Linked DNA regions of Homo sapiens: region 2 is linked to region 1. The links are contacts of gene promoters, found by promoter capture Hi-C in human tissues and cell types (Jung and others, 2019). All regions are on one chromosome and are shown on one strand. Each heading gives the region's core, a stretch centred on a gene start or on the middle of the fragment in contact. The rest is flanking DNA. Distances are from core to core; before and after follow the strand shown.

Evidence for each region. The method cuts DNA at HindIII sites, captures the fragments that hold promoters and counts their contacts. A contact is called where the count stands out against the background at its distance.
Region 2: a contact is called between a fragment that was not itself captured here and the fragment with the promoter of PLA1A in region 1, in 2 of the 25 tissues and cell types used here (stomach and thymus).

The regions. Positions count from the first base shown.
Region 1 is chr3:119,591,618-119,599,204 of GRCh38, forward strand. It overlaps PLA1A (phospholipase A1 member A), which reads left to right and starts at 6,268. Exons shown (of 11, transcript NM_015900.4): 1 at 6,268-6,369. The coding sequence starts at 6,297. RefSeq lists an enhancer at 6,947-7,136. The HindIII fragment of the contact is 21,246 bases long and covers 1-7,587 here.
Region 2 is chr3:119,456,276-119,462,993 of GRCh38, forward strand. TMEM39A (transmembrane protein 39A) reads right to left here. Exons shown (of 9, transcript NM_018266.3): 2 at 5,687-5,873; 3 at 1,743-1,965. The coding sequence starts at 5,799. Among named protein-coding and RNA genes, the nearest start is that of TMEM39A, 4.0 kb to the right of the region's middle. The HindIII fragment of the contact is 7,294 bases long and covers 1,435-6,718 here.

The sequences.
Region 1 (7,587 bases), core at 5,018-7,517:
CTAATTGTTAGCTGTTTAAGTATTAGAAAATCATTCCTTAGAGGCAAAATGGTGTAGTATGGTGACAGTGTAAGCCTGTGCTCTCTTCACCTTCCTACAACTAAGTGGTGATGTCAAGAGGAAAGGCTAGGTGTAGGTTTGAGATCCGCATTTGGCAGCAGGGGAAGGGAAGGGACAGAGTGAGCCCAGGAAAAATTGTGAAGTGGGCAGAGAATCTTCACTCCCCTTCAGACTCTTTCCCCTTCTCAGGCAGCTCCCCCACCTCTGCACTCATTTTGCCCCTTGGTCACTGTAGAGACCCCACCCAATGCTTCGGACATGATCTAGACTTATCTGTTCGCACTGCGTTTGGTTATATCTGTCCCCACTTGCCAAGGTCCTTCACCTTTGTGGGCCTTGAGGTCATTGTCTCTACCAGCTGGTGGCCTCAGGCAAGTGACTCCTCTCAGGGTATTTGAGCTTGGAGCCCCTGAATTTTCAATACTAATGCCCAAAGAACATGAGTCTAAAATGGGGTTGTCTGACTTGGAGATAAGAGCAAAGAAAGAATCCTTTGGTCTCCCAATCTACAGAGCTGTGGATAGAAACATTTACTAATAGACAGCCATGCTTCAAAGCAGTGTTTCTCATCATTTTGGCTGGTATATGGACAACCCTCCTCCCCATTGTCAATGCCAGCAGATGGAAGTGACACAGTCCATCTGTTGGCCCACTTCAGGGGCCGGCTGTGTCTTCTTACTATATCTTCCTTCTAAAATACACTTTCTATTGGAGACTGCTCTAGTGAAGGTGACATTCTGAGGTGAGGTGGACTCTCTACTGTCCCTTATTCCACCAGCCCTGAATCCAGGAGACCTAGGAGGGGGGTGCTCTGAAGGTGTGAATTTTTTCCTTGTTGCAGGCACATGGTAATTGCTATGTAATTAGGACTAAGAAAAGGCATGCTCTGTGATCTTTTCCAGAGAGCTGCCATTGAAACCCGGCTCTGCCACCAGATGCCTCCAAGCCTCAGGTTGCTCAGGACTAATGTAAGTTGAGGCTAATAATGCCCACCTTGAGGAGAATGGTGAGAATGAGAGTGGGTAGCATAAATTCAGTGGAATGCATAAGGACCTATTGCTGGTGGTAGTTTTTCAAATTCAAATCCATGCTCTGCCACTTTGTGTAGCCTTGGGCAAGTTATTAAACCTTGCGCTGCCTGTTTCTGAACGTGGAAAATGGGGTTAATAATAGTATCTACCTTGTGGGATTGTTGTACTTTTTACACAGCATAGTATCTAGCATATAATAAGCAGTTAAACAAAAAATGGAAAAAGATGTGTTAACATATACTATCTATATATTATTGATAGCTTTTAGAAAGTGTATCTAGTGTCTTCTTTTTACCAAGCTGTCATGAAATGAGAGACCCAGGGATATTCCCAGACAACCACCTCCAGCCAGTTTCTTATGTCATTTGGGAAACTTTTGACACAACCCCGGGTGCTCACAGGGTTTTCTTTCTCTTCAACCTTCTCACAATACTCCCTTGCCATAATGCACACCCAAAGATAAACCCTTAAGGTTCACAATTTTACTTTGAAGTTAGGTGATCTCAGGGAATAAACACTAAACCATTGAATTTTAGTATCAAACTGTCATTTTAAAGCTACAAATAATTTTTAGCCTTCTCAACACTTGCAGGCTTGGCATCTCCTGCGGGGTACACAGCATCTCTGTTCTGGCAAAACCACAAGTGACCTTTTTGTCTGGGCTAATATAAAGCTGGTCTCTACTTATTCTTTCTGGAAAAACAGAGACAGAATATAGATGTTTTTAAATGAAAGTTAAAATAATGTGGTTTGGCATATTAGAGGCATGAAATGTTCTTTCTCCATAAGGTTTTAGACCGTACTGTGTGAAAAGCAGGTTCACTGTGATTTGTCTGAGTCTTGGGAGACAGAACACCTATGCATGCAATGAGTTACAGGAATCTGGCTTATTACTTACAGCTAGGCAGCAGACAACAGAAGCCTGAAATTCATGTGAGCCAGTACCCAAGGCTTAGGAAAGCTGCCTGTGGCACACGGATCCTCATCTGCACATGCCCACTTGTACCACAACTGAGGACCCCCAGGAAGGCAGCCCACCCTGGGTTTTATATTCAAAGGAAACAAGAATCACTGAGCTAAAGCATTGAAGGATATCGTGTTTGGGGGTGTGGGGTAGTCGGGGGACTGGAACAGATTCCAGGATGTTGGATTCCCAGCACATTCTACAGTTATTCTTGAGAACTATAAGCCAGAAAGCTGAAAGAACCGGGCCCAGTCCAAGACCTTGAAAACTGTCTTGCACTACACTTATATTTTATGACTTGTTCTGAGAAGGTAAGTGTGTGTGCGTGCACGCACGTGCATGTACCCATGTTCACATGCAGGACATACAGGACAGCAGGAGTGGAGAGACTCCATAATCGTGCTCTTCACCTCAAATTGGAATCTGGCAAGATTGGACTTTCTGAAAATCAGGTAGGATAAGGGCTTCAAGCCATTTTGGGTTGAGCACTAAAATTTCATGACACATTCTATCTGATGGAATTCTATGCAACCTTAAAAGAAGAATGAGGCAGCTCCAAAGTATTTTGTTTAATGTGAAACTCAAGGTTCAAAAGAGTTTGCGTAAGCCTGGGCGTGGTGGCTCACACGTAGAATCTGAGCACTTTGGGAGGCAAAAGTGGGAAGATGACTTCAGCCCAGGAGTTCAAGACCAGCCTGGGCAACATGGCGAAACCCTGTCTCTTAAAAAAAAAAAAAAGAAAAGAAAGAAAGAGAGAAAGAAAGAAAGAAAAATTAGATGGCCATGGTGGTGTGTGCCTGTACCAGCCACTTGGGAGGCCAAGGTGGGAGAATCACTTGAGCCCAGGAGGCCAAGACTGCAGTGAGCCATGATTGCACTGCTGCACTTCAGCCTGGGTGACAGAGCAAGACACTGTCAAAAAAAAAAAAAAAAAAAAAAGTAGTAGGTCAAAAGAAGGGTGTAAAAATCTAAAAAGCATGAGATAGAATATCTTTAGGAGGATAAGCAAGAAAACCATGACAATGCCTGATTTCTATAGGATTGGGAAACTTGGGGGAAAGGGATGGAGATTTATTTTTAACCATGTTTTTGTATTTTTTAAAAAAGCATATATGTGTAGACCTATTACAAAATACATGTTAGGCCAGATATGGTGGCTCACACCTCTAATCTCAATGCTTTGAGGTTGAGATGGGAAGATTGCTTGAGACCAGAAGTTTGAGATCAGCGTGGGCAATACAGCGAGACCTCTATCTCTACAAAATAATTTTAAAAAATTAGCCAGGCATGGTGGCAGGTGCCTGTACTCCAAGCTATTTGAGAGACTGAGGTGGGAGGATCACTTGAGGCCAGGAGGTCGAGGCTGCAGTGAGCCAAGATTACACCACTACACTCCAGCCTGGTTGATAGAGCAAGACCCTGTCTCAAAAATAAATAAATAAATAAATAAATAAATAAATAAATAAATAAATAAATAAAATTAGCTGGGTGTGGTAGTGTGCACCTATAGTCTCAGCTACTCAGGAGGTTGAGGCAGGAGGATTGCTTGAGCTCAAGAAGTGAGGCTGTGGTGAGCCATTATTACACCACTGCATTTCAGAATTTTGAACATTGATGCCCTGGTCCCTTGCTCATTGTGTACCCAGATCCTAGGCAAATAAAACCATCTGTCTCCACCTTACAATGGGTGAGTAGGACCCCCTTTCTAAAAGAGGGGTGGGAACTAACCAGCACACCCTACCAGTTGAACAATGCCTTCCCCTGGCAAATACTTATTGACCACTGGCTGTGTAGCAAGTACTGTGTTACATACTGGGATATCTCAGTGAGCAAAACAGGCCAGGACTCTGCCCTTCTGAGGCTGACATTCTCCTTGGGGGAGATGGACAGCATACACTGAATATGAATTGTGGCTCTCTCAGTGTCTCCAGGTAGGAGGGTCTCATCCTCACCTTCTAAAATATGTAATCTCACTTTTCAGAAGGACGAGGTTTAGTCCAATAAAACTCTTGCATATCTTGTTTCGCCTTGGCCCTCTCAAGCAGTGTCCCTAGCCCCTGGCCTATCTGAGCTTCAGTTTCTCCACTGGTGAAATGGACATGGCTATTGTAAGTATTAACAGAAGACTAGTGGTTCTAGCATGCGTACGATCACCCGAGGAGCCTGCTGGAACTGCAGAGTCCTGGGCCCAGTTCCAAAGATTCTCATTCTGTGTGTCTGGGGTGGATCCAGCAATCTGTCCCAAGTCAATTGGATGGTTGTGAGGCAGGGGGTTCTGGAAGGGACCACTCTGACCCCGCTTGGAGAGCTCTGTGCTAGATGTTGGATGTGAAAGAAAGTGAAAGTGCTCTCTCAATGTCAGCTGTATTCATGCCATGCACAAGGGCACCCTGGATTAACTATCTCTGGCCACGGTGTGGGTGGCTAGGAAAACAGCCCTCAGTTCTCCTGCTGTAGGGAAAATGATTGACTGATGGCTCCAGCTGCTGTCTTCTGAATCTACCTCTGTCTTTGTGCTGAGGCTGACCTCAGCTAATGACTAAGCAAGATGTGGCTGCTAATGCAGGCTCATTTCTACAAAACACATCTGCTGTCACAAAAGACTTTGGCCTGAGGAGTCCCCATTGGCCTGGTCAGAATATTCTAGAAACTGTGCTGCAGCCTGAGACTCTTCCTATGTAATCCTCTCTTTCCTGCCCATTCTCTTTCACAGGTATCAGATGTTCACCACCATCTAAAGGCGCTTCCTGGCTTCTCTAGTACCTCTTATTCTTTACAGGTGTTAGCTCGATAAATCTCTTGCATATCTTGTCTTACCTTGGCATCTTCTTCTCCGAGGACCTGAACTCATACACTTGGCTTGGTCTCTAATATCAAGACAGCTTTCAGTAGTGACCTCTGCTGTGCACTACTTATTGCCACACCCCTTCCTGGTTGCAGCAGCACTTGAGCAGTGAGATCATGTGCACAAGGGGATGTAAGGGCTAGCCCCTCCAAAATAATTGTATCCTGCGTTCAGCCATGATGACATGGTCCCAGAGCCTCTTCAGGAGTTGTTGCTGTAGAGTATCGTTGCTCAGAGCATGGATTCTGGGGCTGGCTCATCCCGCTTTAAATCCCAGCTCTGCATGACCTCAGGCAAATGACTTAAATTCTCTGTGCCCTACCAGCTGTGTAAAACACAAATGTTTGTATTTAATACAAATTACTTCTATCACAGAGAAGTAATTTGTACTTATCTGTGCTTACTAACTGTGTAATTGTCACAGTTAAGTAATTTGTATACAATTATAATACAAATAAGTAATTTGTTGTACAAATTACTTAACTTCTCTGTGATAATACTCACCTCAGAGAGTTATTGTTTGGAAAAGATGATCCTGGCCCTGCCAGTGGGCTGTCTACCTCACAGCAATGTGTTATGATTTAGGGAGTGGGGGGCAAGTGCCCTGCCCTCTGCCTCTGCCCCATTGACTTGCCTAGAAATAGCTCTTTGTGGTTTCTGCCACTCTTTGGGGTGGAGAGGCCATATGGTGCTGGAACCATCTTGGTTCCAGGCCCGGCTCTGCCACTTCCACCAACGGGATCTCTACAGGTCATTTTCTTTTTCTAATATGCAGTTTCTTTGTGAATTCAGGAAGTTGAACATCTCCAAAGTTGGACTTGACTCCTAGCCCCAAGATTCTACAAAATGATAGTACTCTCCAGAGGAAACTTTTTCTTCCCTTCTTCCCTTTAAATGGACACTTAATATATAGTATTATCTCAGTCTTGTGCTAGGCACTGGGTATTCAAAAATGAAAAGAGAAAGCCTTTGCTCTCAAGTCACTCAGAATCTTCTAGGGAGACACACATGTCCACAGATAATTCCAACACAATGAGGGGTTTCTGGCCACCCAGAGATGCAGGACTTCTGCCTTGGTTATTACTAACATCCTATCACGGGAAGTGGGAGAGGTGCAGGAAATAGTTTCCTGATCATGTTTGGCTCAAAGAGGGACAGTGTGTTTCAATGCACTCTGGTTAACAAAAAAGAAAGTGTATTTATTTTCATTGAGAAGAAGAAACCGAAAACTCTGGCATTTAAATAAATAAAGAAGAATTTATTTTTCCTTTTCAGGTCATGAGGCTAGTTAATGATTAGTGAAATCCACGTGGGTGTTTTCTGAGAGGCTGGGTTATATGATCTCTTTGGCTTTAGGGAATTACTCCATACCAGCTCTGAGATTTCCAGCTCAGCGATGCCCCCAGGTCCCTGGGAGAGCTGCTTCTGGGTGGGGGGCCTCATTTTGTGGCTCAGCGTTGGAAGTTCAGGTAAGCCAGGGCTCAGGCCTTGGGAGGAACTTATTTCAGTCAGTGATCATATTTCTCCAACTACTTATGCAGTACTAACTTTTGGAAGATCCCCTAAAAGCCTTTTGCCTCTTCTGAGGTGAATTTAAAACAGTAGGGGAAAAAAACCCCTTTTATCATAATCGGAATGATGGTAAACAGGTCACAAAACCTGAACTTTCCCTGGTTATCCGACTCATTTTTCTAAAGCCCACATAAAAAAACCCTTTCTCACCTTGCACAAGCCAGGACCAACTGTAAGAAAATAAAATTTGGTTAATTCTAAGATATTCATTTTTCACCCCATAAATATCCACCATTCCAAGATATATTTAATTTTAAAATTTAGGTTTTCCAAACTAATAATGATTTTGTCACTGAGATTGTTAGATGTCCTTTCTAATCCAGCAACCTAACTCAAGTGGTTTGTCATCCTGGCTGGGTGATGGGAACTAGTCCCTGCTAACCTCAGATGCCCCTGGGAAAACTTCCCTCAGATGCCAATTTGCATTTACCTTTCCCCCAGTAAAGAACTGACCCACTGATCCCTCTTGCCTAACAGAAAATTAACCTGCTCTACTTTGGGTTCTCAGAAGTTCTCAGAAGACTCCTTCTCACTATGGTGAGGTCACCCTTAGAAAAATCCCCTCCCTCTACTCACAATAGCAGGCTGCTTTTCTGTCTTCTCCGCTGGACATTTAATTCTCATTCCCTGGCTCTAGAATATGTCATTGCTTCTGCCTGGGGTTGCTCACATCACCTTTGGATTGATTTCTGTTCTTTGCATCTTTCAAGGGGGCTTCTGTATTCCTATCTCCCTTGTACTCATTCTTTTTCTGCTCAGCACCCCTCCCTGCTACAAAGTTCCACTGGGTGACTGCATGCTCTCCTTGCACTCATGGGTGGTTTTTCAGAGGTGCTGTTGAGCTCTGTATGTGCTTTCTCCTACCTCAATTAGTTGTCCCTAAAAGGTGAGGATTTGAGGCTTCTGTCTCTTTTAGCATAGTTAGTGCTGTGCTCTGTATAGAGCAGATGTCCAGTGAATATTGCAGACATTGATGCTTAGAGGAGGCAATGGGCTGAGCTGATGGGGAATAGGCTCTGTCTGGGTCGGGCTAACCCAGACTGGAATCCTGGCTCTGTTTCTTTGTAGCTATGTGACCTTGAGGAAGTGGCTTTCTTTACCTGTAGCTAGAGATG
Region 2 (6,718 bases), core at 3,832-6,331, 140 kb before region 1:
CTTAATCCAGATAAGAAAAAAAGACTTAAAAAAAAATTTGGCACTATATCATTGCAATTTTTCAACACAGAAACTGACATTCTTATCACATGATATTAAGTAGACAGGAGGTCAATATAGCAAGAAAATTTTTAATACCAGGAACAACCAAATGATACAAATATTTAAAACAAAAATTTTTATTCTCTTTCCATACTATCTTAAGGATTTTGGCCCACATTTCCTTTCTATGTTCACCATGATAGGGAGGCTTTCTAATCTTTATTAGTCCCAAACACATATATAAGACAATAGTCTTCTTTCGCCTAGAGCCTATCTCTATCACTCATGCAAATCTGCCATTGCCAACAACCTATCTGTCAAGTCATCTGACTAGCCTTAGTACAGTTTCCACAATCTTAGCTCACTGTAGTCTTGATCTCCTGGGCTCAGGCAATCCTCACTTCAGCTTCCCCAGAAACTAGGACCACAAGTGTGCACTACCATGCCCAGTTAATTTTGTTTATTTTTTGTAGAGACAAGGTCTCACTATGTTGCCTAGGCTGGTCTCAAATTCCTGGGCTCAAGCAATCCTGCTGCCTTCACCTCCCAAAGTGCTGGGATTATAGGCATAAGCCACCATGCCCAGGCCTTACCAATATTTTTTTATATACCCATCTATGGTGAACCTTCTCTGCATCAAGACTATCATGGTACTCTTTTTTTTTTTTTTTGAGACAGAGTCTCGCTCTGTCGCCCAGGCTGGAGTGCAGCGGCTCGATTTCGGCTCACTGCAAGCTCCACCTCCCGGGTTCATGCCATTCTCCGGCCTCAGCCTCCCAAGTAGCTGGGACTACAGGCGCCTGCCATCACACACGGTTAATTTTTTATATTTTTAATGGAGACAGGGTTTCACCGTGTTAGCCAGGATGGTCTCGATCTCTTAACTTCGTGATCCGCCCGCATTAGCCTCCCAAAGTGCTGGGATTACAGGCGTGAGCCACCGCGCCCGGCCTATCATGGTACTCTTAATAAATGGAAAGAGAACAGAAGAAACCTACAATATATTTTTATGTACTTCAGCAAAGACAGCCAATTTCTCAATTTCACTTCCCAATTTCCCAATTTGATTTAAGTTCACTATGTACCCAGCTAAAGGACTATATTTAGCTTCTCTTGTAATTAGGAGTGGACATGTGTGGAAATGATGTAAGCCTGGCCCATAAGAAACTGTCCTTTACATTGCCCTAAGCTCTTTCCCCTTCTGGCTGACAGGGATGGGCCACAGCCACCTTGGAGGTCACATGTTGGAAGACAGTAGAATCTCCATCAGCCTGGGTCCCCTGAAGAACTCCTGGCAACCAGGACAACTGCCTCAGAGTTTATTTGTTACAGAAGCTACCACTATCCTAATTCAGCCATTAAAAGGGTAGAGTTGTTAGAATGTAGTAACACTGACACCTTATACTTACAAATTTAAAATGGTGTAGAGAAAACTAAATACCAAAACCTTTCCGTGATATTATTATAAAAAATTATTTAAATGTTTTCTGCATTTTCATTTATATTTTTACTTCCTCTGGTAGTACTTATAATTTAACCATCTTATCATGAAATTTTATTTCTGAAAGTAATCTGTGGCCTAGCAGAAAAACATTTTATTAAAAGAAAAATTATTAAGAAAAACAATTTCTACAGAAAGGCTTTCCAGGTAGTTTCTTGGGTAAGTAACATGAAGAACTTAAAGTCTGAGTAAGACTTACCAGTGATGTACAAGAAGCAGGATGATTGTAAGGATACCACCACACTGTTTTATAAATGTTGATGTACTGAATGAAAAGAGCAACCAACAGGTAGATGAAAAAAAGGAATTCAAAGAGTAGGCTCCCATCCACAGGCAAGTCAGGAATTTGGCAATGACGAACAGGACCTGGGGTGATTAAGGCTGTGATAGGTGGGACTGGAAGGCCAATAGCACTACCATTCCTGAAAGAGAAAACTATGGTTAACTCAAATGGTGATAACCTCCAGTATCACAGAACATAAAGGGCTCCTGCTGTCTCCTCCATCTACCCCTTCACTGTCTGCTTTCCCCACAAGACTCCATCCTGGGATCCTCTTTTCTCCCTCCACACTTTCTGTCAGTGATCTAAGATGCAGCTATGGCCTCCATTATCTCCTACATGATGAAGACTATAATTTCTCTCCATAGAGCTCACTGCTAAATTATAGACACATTATTCAACTCCCTACTGGACATCTCTGTGTTCTTCCCTCCTATAGTCCTGACCTTAGTTCATGGCCCACTCAGTTAGCTGCCCACATCAGAAACCTGGGAGTCATATTAAAACTTTTCTTGGCCAGGCGTGGTGGCTCACACCTGTAATCCCAGCACTTTGGGAGGCCGAGGCGGGCGGAACACCTGAGGTCAGGAGTTCAAGACCAGCCTGGCCAACATGATGAAATCTCATCCCTACTAAAAATACAAAAATTAGCCAGGCATGGTGGTGGACACCTGTAATTCCAGCTACTTGGGAGGCTGAGGCAGGAGAATCGCTTGAACTTAGGAGGCGGAGGTTGTGGTGAGCTGAGGTAGCACCATTGCACTACAGCCTGGGCAACAAGAGTGAAACTCCATCTCAAAAACAAAACCAAAAAAAGAATATAAAAATAGATTTAAGAATCTATTCAGAACCCATATAAATTCTCTAGCAATGAGTTGTGACAACACATGTGAAGTGCTACTCATCCAGGAAAGCTCATTAGAGACTTGATGCCCAGGGTTTTTATTGGGGGCTGGCCACATGGGCACCTTCTTTCTAGCAGTACCAAAATTCTAGACTCCCAAAAAGAATGCAGGTGTTCAACATAGCTACTCTTAGGAAGGCCTGCTTACAAGGCTTACATCTGGGAACCATGACTAGTAAACAGTTCCCTACAGTGATATAAACTTTCCCTAAATAACTAGAGTGGCTCACTGTGCCTAAACTGTTTATACAAACAATGTGGTTTATGCTGAACACCTGTGTTTTGTCCTTGCATATAAAGTTTGTGTGTGGCAAAGGGTTAACACAGCAGGCCTGAGACTGACTGGTATGGAGCCAGCAAGCAGCAGAATTTAGGGAAGCAAATGGATGAAAGAAGAAAGATTCAAAGGCATAAAGAGGAATAGAAGAGGTAGGGAAAGCAGTGGTCATTTGGACACGTTCAGGTGATATTATTAACAAAGTATATGCAAGGAATAAGCAAAGAAAACAATAGTTCTTCTCAAATAAGATTCTCCCTCAATCAGGAACTCTCTAAGAAATCCAGAAATACACAATATATCTTCCTTTTTTAAAAGGATAATACTTTAAATACACTGTTGCAAGAACAAATCCCTGCTCCCCAAAGGTGGACAGCAGGACAAGGAACTACAATTTCAACCTTGACTGTGTTACCAAACTAGCTCCTTGACATTCTAGAGTTTAACTTCACCAATCAGACCACAAGCACCTACCAAACAGGGACAAATTCTCTCCTCTCCAGCTGACCTATGTCTGTCTTGCAGAATCAAATGTATCATCCAAAAGTATGTAATACTGAAGCAATTATCTATTTCCCTCCAATACTCTATAGACACTCCAGAAGTGAGTTCTCCTCATCTGGACACTCCTTCTTTCTATATATCCTTCCTAAAACTATATTATAAGCTATCCGCTAGTTCTTTCATGTTTTCATACCTCGTCCCCAGGTCTTTTATAACAAATTATTCCAGCTGCTTGCTTCCCACCAAGAAAGAAATATAAAGCTTTCTTTTCCCCAAATAATTTCTCTAGGTAAACATGTCACAAATAATCACTCAATAATAGTCTTGGTGACTTTTCAAACCATAAACAATTATTTCTTTCATTTTAAAATGTTGGAAAATACTTTTTTCTACCCACTCCCTCCCTCCCCCCAGTTAATTGCTAAATAAACATATGTTAAAGGAGGAGAGAAAGGCAGATTAAAGCAACCATGGTTGGAACCTTGAATACCAGGATAGAAGAGCTACAGTGAAGGCAGAGAAAAGAATACCAAACCCAGTCAAGAGCCGAGGTATTTTCCGAACGTTCCTACTTCTTCCCAGTATACCATCTGCAGACTCTAAGTGCAAGCAGAAGCATCTACAAATGACATTTTCATTGGCTTTCAGTTCTTTTTAATAGCAGAACGCTTTATTTTCCTTTCCTCATGATATTTTACATAGTATCTTAATATTTAAAACACATAGGAAAATGAGTCAGTCTAATTAAAAGAAGACGAGGAAAACTCAAGCCTAGACTGTTAGGCTTGCCTGATCCATTTTCCCTTCTAAGCCCTCCTACAGCAACCCCTGAGACACTGAAGAGGGATTTCATGGGACAGTCTAAGAACATTTTTATCTAGAGAACATAATTATCTAGAGGAATCCTCAAAGCCAAAGTCAAAGAGAACGAACAAAGAACTGCTAGAGTTAGGAGGCAAAGTTAGAATTTTTTAGTTGGCTAGAATCCTAGTTAGGGACAGCTAAGATTTTCTATCACAATTTGAAAGTACTGAATCAATAAGTTGATAGCATATATTAATAAAATTAAGGCATGTACCTCAAAGAGCAAACAACTTTTATCTCAATACCTATATTAGATAGTACCTTTCTTCAAAAGCATTTTCGCATATTCTCATTCTTATTTTTAAGTATATAAAATAATACTTATTTGTAGAAATTTTGTAAAATTCAGTAAAGTTTTTTAAAGTTACTGCAATTTACTACTTCATTTATTTCAACATCCTGCTATGATGCAAACAGTACCATCATTTTTAAAATAAGGAAATCCAACGAACGGCAGAGTAAAAAATACTCTAGCATAAACTAGTTACTCTGTATACATACATAAACAAAACTCGGATTAAAAATTAGTATGAGAATCGGAGACTGGAAAAATCCCTTCAAACTGGAATTTCAGGGAGAGCTCCACTGAAATGATGAGATCAGAACTAATTTTAAAGATTGGGTGGAAGAGGGATTGGAAAGTCAGGAAAAAAAAAGGACAAAGGTCAGGCCTAGAAAACAAAAGTGCATAAATACCATTAGACAGGCCTGAAAATACAGTAGTACTGATTGCTAGCTCTGAAAATTAAAATCAAGACAAGAGAAAAACTTTTTTCAGGGAGGAAGGAGAAATTAGCTGGCAGAAAATATCTTGAGCAAATACTTCATTAGGTAAAAGTATCTCTTTGAACTGCTACATTATCAAACCTCCTGATGGCATGGGCTAACCCAGCTAAAAAACAGCTAACATTTATTAAGACCAAACAATTTTTTGACAATTTAAAATCCTTGATGGAATTTGACTTATAATTTGCCCTCTAAAAAAAGAATGCTTATAAGTAGATAAACCATCACACTTACCTTGTATTTTCATTCACTTCTCCCTTCTTCTAATAGATAAAAAGGGGATAACAAGAATTTAGATGATCAGCCAAAATAAAGAATGGGACTGCTTTCACTTTGTGGGCCCCATTTCACATCTTTTTACCTCCAAAGTATTTTGGAATTCTGAATTTTGTCTTGAAGGGCAGGATTTCTACCACAGTGTCAAGAATAAATCTCAATAAGCAAATATCTGAATGACATGATGACTTTTATGTTAGTCTTACTGATCAAAGGACATTAAAATTATATATAGCCTTATTTTTTCTTTACCTGTTTCTCAAGCCTGTTCCATTGCCACAGCCTCCACCAACCAAAGTCTGCAAAGAAGGTAAAGCTGAACGGCTTAGCTGTTGCCGACTAGGGCCCCTCCTTCCACCGGGCATGTCCAGGAACCAGTCTGCTTCCAGTGCCACCTGTAGTTGCAACCCAGGTTAATGGTTGTCAACCAGTTTCAACTCTGAACGACAACAAAAACATTTAAACATCAGTAGACTATTTTTAAAGTAGGCAACAAAACAACGACAAACACTGAGTAAGCAGGCCTTACAAAATAAGATTTTCAAACGAATGTTCCCAGTGTCTACTACTTACGTTATTCGAATTAAAGGACTACTCAGACTCTAATGGGTCAAAAGCCTAAGTTCTGATCTAAGCTCTGTTCAGCTTTAGGCAAGTGATGATTTGTGTCTTTTGTCAACTGATTTGTATCATCTGTAAGATATTATAATCAAATAGAAGTTTACAAGAAACATCACACCTTATACATTTCCAGCTCAATGTTTCACACTTAAACTACTTGAAATATAGAAGAATTGGCACTTTATAAAACATTAGGTTTTGTTATCAAGGGATATGGCTTGTGAGCTCAGATGGTCACATATTATCTGACCTTATCCGGATAAGTTAACTTCTGAGTGTGTTCTTCTGAGTGTGTTTCTTCAAGGGGGGGGGGCGGGGGGGGGGAGTGTCCCCTGTTCTGCAGAGGTTGTCAGGACTGAGGAAGTGGAATGAAAGGGTACCAGTAGTTCTTTTAACAGTTTAAAAGTAAAACTGTTCGAGTGGTATCTCTATATGTTAGGGTTAAAATATTGAAAGAAACTCTTCAAGGGGATGCCCGCTCCAGAAAAGCTGGTGTAAAATCATACAGAAATTACTGAAACTGCAAGATTAAGAAGCAAGTAAAAGATAAAGATCCTCACTGGAAAAAAAAAAAAAAGCTCTTTTCATCATTCTACGGCAAAAATCATGATTCTGTCAACATGGATACCAATGTTTCCTAAACAATACAACTAAAACCCAAGG